Regions from separate parts of the Homo sapiens genome. Here region 1 is linked to region 2. The links are contacts of gene promoters, found by promoter capture Hi-C in blood cells and fetal thymus (Javierre and others, 2016). All regions are on one chromosome and are shown on one strand. The core of a region is centred on a gene start or on the middle of the fragment in contact, and the rest is flanking DNA. Distances in the headings are between cores, read along the strand shown. Region 1 overlaps BUB1 (BUB1 mitotic checkpoint serine/threonine kinase). Region 2 holds the start of CKAP2L (cytoskeleton associated protein 2 like).

The links. The method cuts DNA at HindIII sites, captures the fragments that hold promoters and counts their contacts. A CHiCAGO score of 5 or more calls a contact.
Region 1: a contact is called between a fragment that was not itself captured here and the fragment with the promoter of CKAP2L in region 2, in 1 of 17 cell types (fetal thymus). The highest score is 5.4, in fetal thymus.

Annotation. Positions count from the first base shown.
Region 1 is chr2:110,665,798-110,669,061 of GRCh38, forward strand. BUB1 (BUB1 mitotic checkpoint serine/threonine kinase) reads right to left here. Exons shown (of 25, transcript NM_004336.5): 7 at 2,000-2,052; 8 at 1,724-1,908; 9 at 466-617. Among named protein-coding and RNA genes, the nearest start is that of SNORD132, 9.2 kb to the left of the region's middle. The HindIII fragment of the contact is 295 bases long and covers 1,804-2,098 here.
Region 2 is chr2:112,762,667-112,766,263 of GRCh38, forward strand. CKAP2L (cytoskeleton associated protein 2 like) reads right to left here and starts at 1,943. Exons shown (of 9, transcript NM_152515.5): 1 at 1,896-1,943. The coding sequence starts at 1,932. RefSeq lists an enhancer at 1,573-1,712 and a silencer at 2,163-2,322. The HindIII fragment of the contact is 4,243 bases long and covers 1,230-3,597 here.

The sequences.
Region 1 (3,264 bases), core at 701-3,200, 2.1 Mb before region 2:
ACCATTATACAGTTTAAATGAGTTTATTTCCAATCTCCTTCATTCACTACTAATTTTAAGAAAATATATGTGGCTCTAACACACTCATCACTTCTCTGCTTTTCCAAGATGAAATAATGGCAAACAAAAAATATATCTAAATGATAAATTATTGAGAGTACTATACTCCAATTTTCATTACACAATAGTCACTGTACAAAAACCAGAAAAAGGTCTATATATAAATACATGAATATATAGACATGTACACATACACAAACATGTAAAACATACTACCATTCTGTTTTGTAACTTTCCACTCTCACTCTACATTGTGAACGTCTATGTCAAATTATTTTAGACTTTCAGAAAGTTACTAGCTAAATTAACATCAGAATTAACTCTAAAACAGCACATAGAAAGGAACAAATCAAACTGCCATTCCTGCTGCTGGGCACAGGATGTGTCATGAGGAGCACAACATACCTCGGACCTTTCCTGGGAAGCGGGCAGATCCTCATGGGATGTCTCCACCACCTGATGCAACTTCTTATGAAGTTCATCCATTTTCTGTTTTAATAGCTGTTCTTCAAAAGCATTTGCTTCTTTCCTTTTCATATAATGTCTGTCTTCATTTACTTTAGGAAAGATAGAAATGGTTTGCATGCAAAATTTAAATCCAGGTCATCATAGGAATACATGCAAAATGAGGAAAGGGTTATATTTTAGGGGGCCGATTTTTTTATTAGTCTTTCTCATATTTGGTTTTAGAAGTGAAACTTGTATTACCTTTTAATTTTTACCTGCCCACAGCTTGGCTACTACATGTTTAGGACATGTAAATTACTAAAAAAAAAAAAAAACTACATGCTGATCAAAAATAATAATAATAGCACAGTATAATAGTAAAGATTTTTGTAGCCATCATATACATGACTGTTCTTGTAAACAATCATGATTGTGCAAATCATTTTAAAATAAATTTTTATTTGTTTTTATAAGATAAAAATTTCTAGAGACTTTCTAAGTAGAAGTGAACTGCACTAAATGATCAGGGCTTCAAGCATGCTGTGGTCAGTCCCATTTCCAACAACTGGTTAACAGAGTCATGCCACAGGCAAGTCAAAGAGTCTGGCTTAAAACTTCTGGTCACAGCATGTGAAAGAAAAACACATCTATGCCCAGCACAAAATGAGTCCTCTGTGTTAACTGACTTGTCTTCTCTGTTGTCAACCGAGTATGAAAAGTAATGAACAGAAAAGAAAGGCCCAGAATGGCTATAGCCCAAATAACTTAGATAGTATAAAAGTCCTGAGTGGAATAAAGGTTCAAATAACTGACCTAGAGGTTTAGAATTACTATATACAGATAATACTGAAAAATTTTTAAATATTTATTTCACTAAAGCTAAGATGACACTGGTATGGATATCTAATTTAGTACTCTTTCAACTATGAGTTTGCTGCCAAGACATCAATTTAGTCCTTGGACTAACTTGGCTGCTACACTAGTGGTTAAGCAATTTCCAATTCAGAAAAAAAAAGTGCAGCTTGCTGCCAGCGCAGTTTTCTCGGGGCAAACGCAAAATGGGTTAATAATGATTTCTGGGCTTCTGATAGGATGAGATGAAGACTTTCTTGCAGTCTTTCAACATAGTCAATTATTCTTTAAAAAAGTAATTACTCAGAGATGAGGATTTTTTTATGTGACATAAGAATAACTAAAAATACAAGATTGCAAGTACCCCATTGCTCATGCTTTCTCCGTTGATTGTATTTCTGGGCTCTCAATTCTTCAAAGGAAAATTCTGATTCCCCACGAATAAGCTTCTCCTTGCAATACATAACAACCTGCTCAACATCAACTTTGGATGCCAAAGATGAGTGCACAGAATATTCTGATTTAGAAATCGTGATCACTCTTCGTTCCCTACAATGGGGGAAAATACATTATTTACAACAATGTACCTAAGAGCACTTAAAGGAAACTAATAATAGATTAATGCACTGATTATACTTGCATATTTGACTCTTTATCACAAGCTGAAGATATCACTCCAGAAAGCTCTGAACCCTAAAAAACAGAAAACAAACATGAGCATTCACTTATCTGAGAAGAAAGCTTCACCCAAATTACTTCACAAAACAATATGAAAATGCTTGAGGGGAAGAGGGACCTTAATCCCAAGTAGATTTATGTAATTTTAAATTATGATTAATATCAAAAGATTGTTTGTATCAACAACCTTACAATAACTATTGTAACTTAATCTAATCAAAGAAAGAGGTTTTTTTGGTTGTTGTTTTGTTTTTAATAAAGTCCTACTCAGCAGTAGAGAAGAACCATAGCTGATTTCCCTTCAATTCATAGTCTAGTAGCTAGAGTATAGTGTCTGAACATTATGGGATTGACATTCCCAACTGCTGCTAATTTTTTTTTTAATTAAAATTTTCCTCAGGTACTACTCTGCCCTCAAGAGTTCTCAAATTCCTTCACTAAACAAATATTTGCCAGACACCTCCATGTCACACTCTGAGCTAGGTCTGGGAAATGTGACTGCAATCAAGACCCATCTCTACTGTCTGGAGCTTAGACAGGACAATAGGTGGTCAGGAGGGTGGCAAGCATGTGTAGGACGTAAAATGTAAATTGGGACAAGCTGCACTACCTGTCAAAGTCAGGAGCGCATATTCTACTTCTAAGAATGTATTACATTAATGAAACCTGTACATACACCCTAAGCACACAGGCGTTTCCATTGGCTTTTGCTTCAAGGAGGTCCTTGATGAACTTTGAAAGAAAGTTGTACTGTGGAGGGTAACATGGGAAACATAGTTGGGAAACATGAGGCTGAGGGAAGAAGAGAGACTTGAGCATTTTCCCATGTTGATACACCATGGAGGCAGAAGAGATCTCCACAGGGCAAAAACCTTGATGAGGATAAGGACAAGCACAGATAGAAGGCCACCTTTTCTCACAGGGAAGGATGCAGTTACATTTATTGGTTGGTGGCAGAAAACTGATAGATGTCACTTGATGGCATCTGCTATCTGTTGAAATAGTATTTTTGAAGTTCCTGAGAGAGAGGCTAGAGGTAGCGAGGTCCCAAGTTTGAAGAGACTGAAAAGAAGTCTAAAATCACTATAGTTTGGCGCTAGAGTGAACCTGGAAACATAAGAGATACACAAAACATAAAGAGTGAATCAGACACTGGAAGCATGTCCCATTGCCTGGGAGTATGACCCATTGCCTGGGAGTATGAGACCTCCCTGTTACTTGAGGTAA
Region 2 (3,597 bases), core at 693-3,192:
TGCCTTTGCAACATAATGTTATAAAATCCCTAGTCCTATAAATGTGCCTTCAAGCTAACATCAACATCAACAATATCATTTATATGCCAGGCCTACACTAAGTTCTTTAAACTTACTACTTTTTTTTTTTTTTTTGAGACAGGGTCTTCCTCTGTCACTGAGGTTGGAGGGCAGTGGCACAACCACGGCTCACTGTTGACTTGATCTCCCAGGTTCTAGCAATCCTCACACCTCAGTCTCCTGAGTAGCTGGGAATACAGGCGTGTACCACCATGCTGGATAATTTTAAAAAAATTTTTTGTAGAGACAGGATCTCACTATGTTGCCAGGGGTGGTCTCAAATTCCTGAGCTCAAGTGACCCTCCTGCTTTGGCCTCCCAAAGTGCTAGGATTACAGGCGTAAGTCAAAGCACTCGGCCTAAATTTACATTATTGCTTTCAATCCACAAAACAATCCAATGAGTTTTTGCAATCTGAAATTCAGAGAGAGTAAATGTCATGCCCAAAGTTACCCAGCTAATATGTGGCAATTCCAGGACTTGAAAACAGGCTTTTCTAACCCTGGAGCTCACAGCCACTGTTCTCAGCTACAACAGTCTGTTTTGAAGAATTTCTGTTACTGGCCCACCTGAGCTGGTGAGCCAGGCCTGGTCTTACGTCTTTTGTTTTTTTACAGGGATGATGATTTTTACCCACAAACCCTTATATGGCTTCCTTTGTTGGTACTAAGGATAAAATACGCCCGGTCTGCTCACGGCAGACACCTATACTATGGTGACTTTCTACGCAAGCCATTTGTGAGGGGATGACAAGTCAATAATTTCTGCCTTCAAGAACTTTCAAACTAGTAGTGGAGATAAAATCAACACAGCAACAATTACAGTATAAGGTAAAATCTAAGGGCCATAAGAGACGAAAAGAAGTATGGGAGTTCAGAGGTAGGGCATAAATGAGGGGAGTAGGTGGCTAGAAAAGGTTAAAAGTAAATAATGATGTGAAGGAAGACAAAAAGACGACAGGGGTGCCAAACGACTCTTAACCTCATCTGAACGGAGTTGCCCTGTTTTGCTCTCTGATGCTCATGTATCTATCCTTAGAGACAGCTTGGCGGGCAATGTAGAGCGTAGGGGCTGACATAGGGGGTTGGAGTCCCACCTCCGTGACTTCTAGCAAATTAGCAAACTTTGCTGCTGCTAAGCCTATAAGGCGGACAGAAATGCCATCTTTAAAGCTTGTTATGTAAAGTGCCTAGGACCTCGTAGGCATCAACAGGAATAATGGATGAAACAAAACAACGGTGCGTATCTTGGAGAAAGTGGCATCTGAGCAGGAGTATTTTGAAAGGTAGGAAAGGGCTCCAAGCACATCTAAGAGATTAGGGAACGCAGAAGCCTTAGCCCTGGGTGCAGATTTAACCAATCAACTTCTAACCACCGCAGGCTGAGAGGTGTGGAGTGAGAGCCCCGCCAGAGGCAGGAGACCCGGGCTTCGGCCAGACCCCGCCTCCTGGCACAGAGGACCACGCCCGGCTCTGCCTGGAGCCAAATGTGGATCAAAACAGCGCGCAGCTTCCCACTGCTGGTGAAAACCCGAGCAAGGGGCCTCAGTTTCTTTATCCGGAACGTGGTGACAATGACATCTCTTTGCAAGGCTGCTGCAGGGCTTTCTGGAAATACGCCCGTGAGGTATCTGGGCCTGCGCACAGCCTCCCCCGCCCAGGACCCAGACGTCTACCTGGGGGTCCCGTCTGCGCTCCCGGGATGGAAAACGCCCAGGGGAAACTTAGGCAGGCGAGCGGACGGGCACCTCCCGCGGGACGAACTCACTCGGTGGCCTCCTACTTCCCCGGCCGTGTTCCAACGCCTGAGAATAACGGGAACAGCGGTCGTACTCACCGACAGCGGCAGCAGCGGTAGGCCCGGGCCCCACCATGACTCTTCAGTGACAGTTTTTCTTCAAACGCCGCGCCTGTAGCCAGGACCGGCGTGCCGCGCGTCCACGCGTCCTCATTGGCTCCTGCGGGTTTGAAACTCGCTAGTCGTCAGCACGGGAGGGCGGGACAACAGGCAATAGGCTCTTTGCGGTTGGCTCTGGCCTTGAGAACCCGACCTTGGGGCCCTTTGATTGGAAGAACGTGCAGCGCACCTCGGCATTGAGGGCGGCTTCCTCGGGGCGCGGCGCCGCCCGCCTCTGAGTGCGCCTGTGAGTGCGCCTCCGAGTGGGCGTGGGACCCTCCGTGGGGGCCTCAGCCGGGCTGGTGGTTGGGGGGCGGTTACGCTGAATCCAGCTGGGGTTGGCGCGCCGGGAGTCCCTGGGCGGAGAGACAGGGCGGTCCTCCCAGGATGCTGGGGCCGCTACCTGATTCTGTCCTTTCAAAGTCTCAGACTCACAGGAGCTGTGAAAAAATAATATTATAAAGAGGACATATGGGTCTTATGCATCTAAAGGCTCCTAGTTCTTAGTACTGCAGGGTGGCTCGTTTAATTGTGGTAAAATATGCATAACATCACATATACCATTTTAACCATTTTAAAGTGTTAAATTTTTCAAAAATGTGCAGTTTAGTGGTATTAAGTACCCTCACATTGTGGCACAGCCACCACTACTGTCCTTTCCAGAACTTTTTCATCTTCCCAAATGAAACCCTGTACCCGTCACTAACTCCGCACTCCTCCCTCCCCCAGCCCCAGGCAATCACCATTCTAGTTTCTGTCTCTATGGATTTGACAACTGTAGGTGCCATATAAGTAGAATCATGCAGTATTTGTTCTGTGACTGGCTTGTTTCACTTAGCATAAAGTATTCAAGGTTCATCCATGTGTAGCATGTGTCAGAATTTCCTTTCCTTTTAAGGGGGAATAGCATTTCGTTGTGTGGAGATGCCACATTTTGCTTCTTGGTCCATCCCTCTCCGGACACTTGAGTTGCTTCCACTTTTTGGCTATTGTGAATAATAATATGAACATGAATGCACAAATAACTCTTTGAGACTCTCCTTTTCATTCTTTTGGGTATATACCACGAAGTGGTATTGTTGGATCAAACGGCAATTCTATTTTTAATTTTTTGAGAAACTGCCTTACTCCTCTCACGGTGATCTCTTGTTCAAGGTATATTTTCGATTTCACCTGATCAGCTGACTATAAGGCCATAAGGCTAACGGAGAAACGCAGGCCTAGTTTCTCCTAGTTACTAGGAGATCGCAGGCCTCGTTGTCCTGAATCCCTAGACACACTTCATTCCCCTTGTTTTAATCCTAAATTTTTTTTCTTTTGAAGTTTGTCCTGTTTCATCTATTCTCCAGTTTCTTAAAGAGGTCTGGAAAATGCTTTTGGCTCCTTGTGTATGAAGGTTCCTCTTCCATGGATGCTGGAGAAGTCGTGTGTGGAGGGGCAGTCATATCTGGGCACCTGTTGGCCAGGTTCAGCTTACCAGTTGGGTACTCAGCAGGGCATGAAGCCACTGCAGCAGCCCTTCTCTTTAGCCGTAAATAGGGAGTTTGGAAGAGAGCCAGGGTTTCTGGATTTATGCATTTTGATATTTTCAATAGTGTATTAAATGTTTAAAATAGGAAAACTGATCATTATTTTTGTTAAT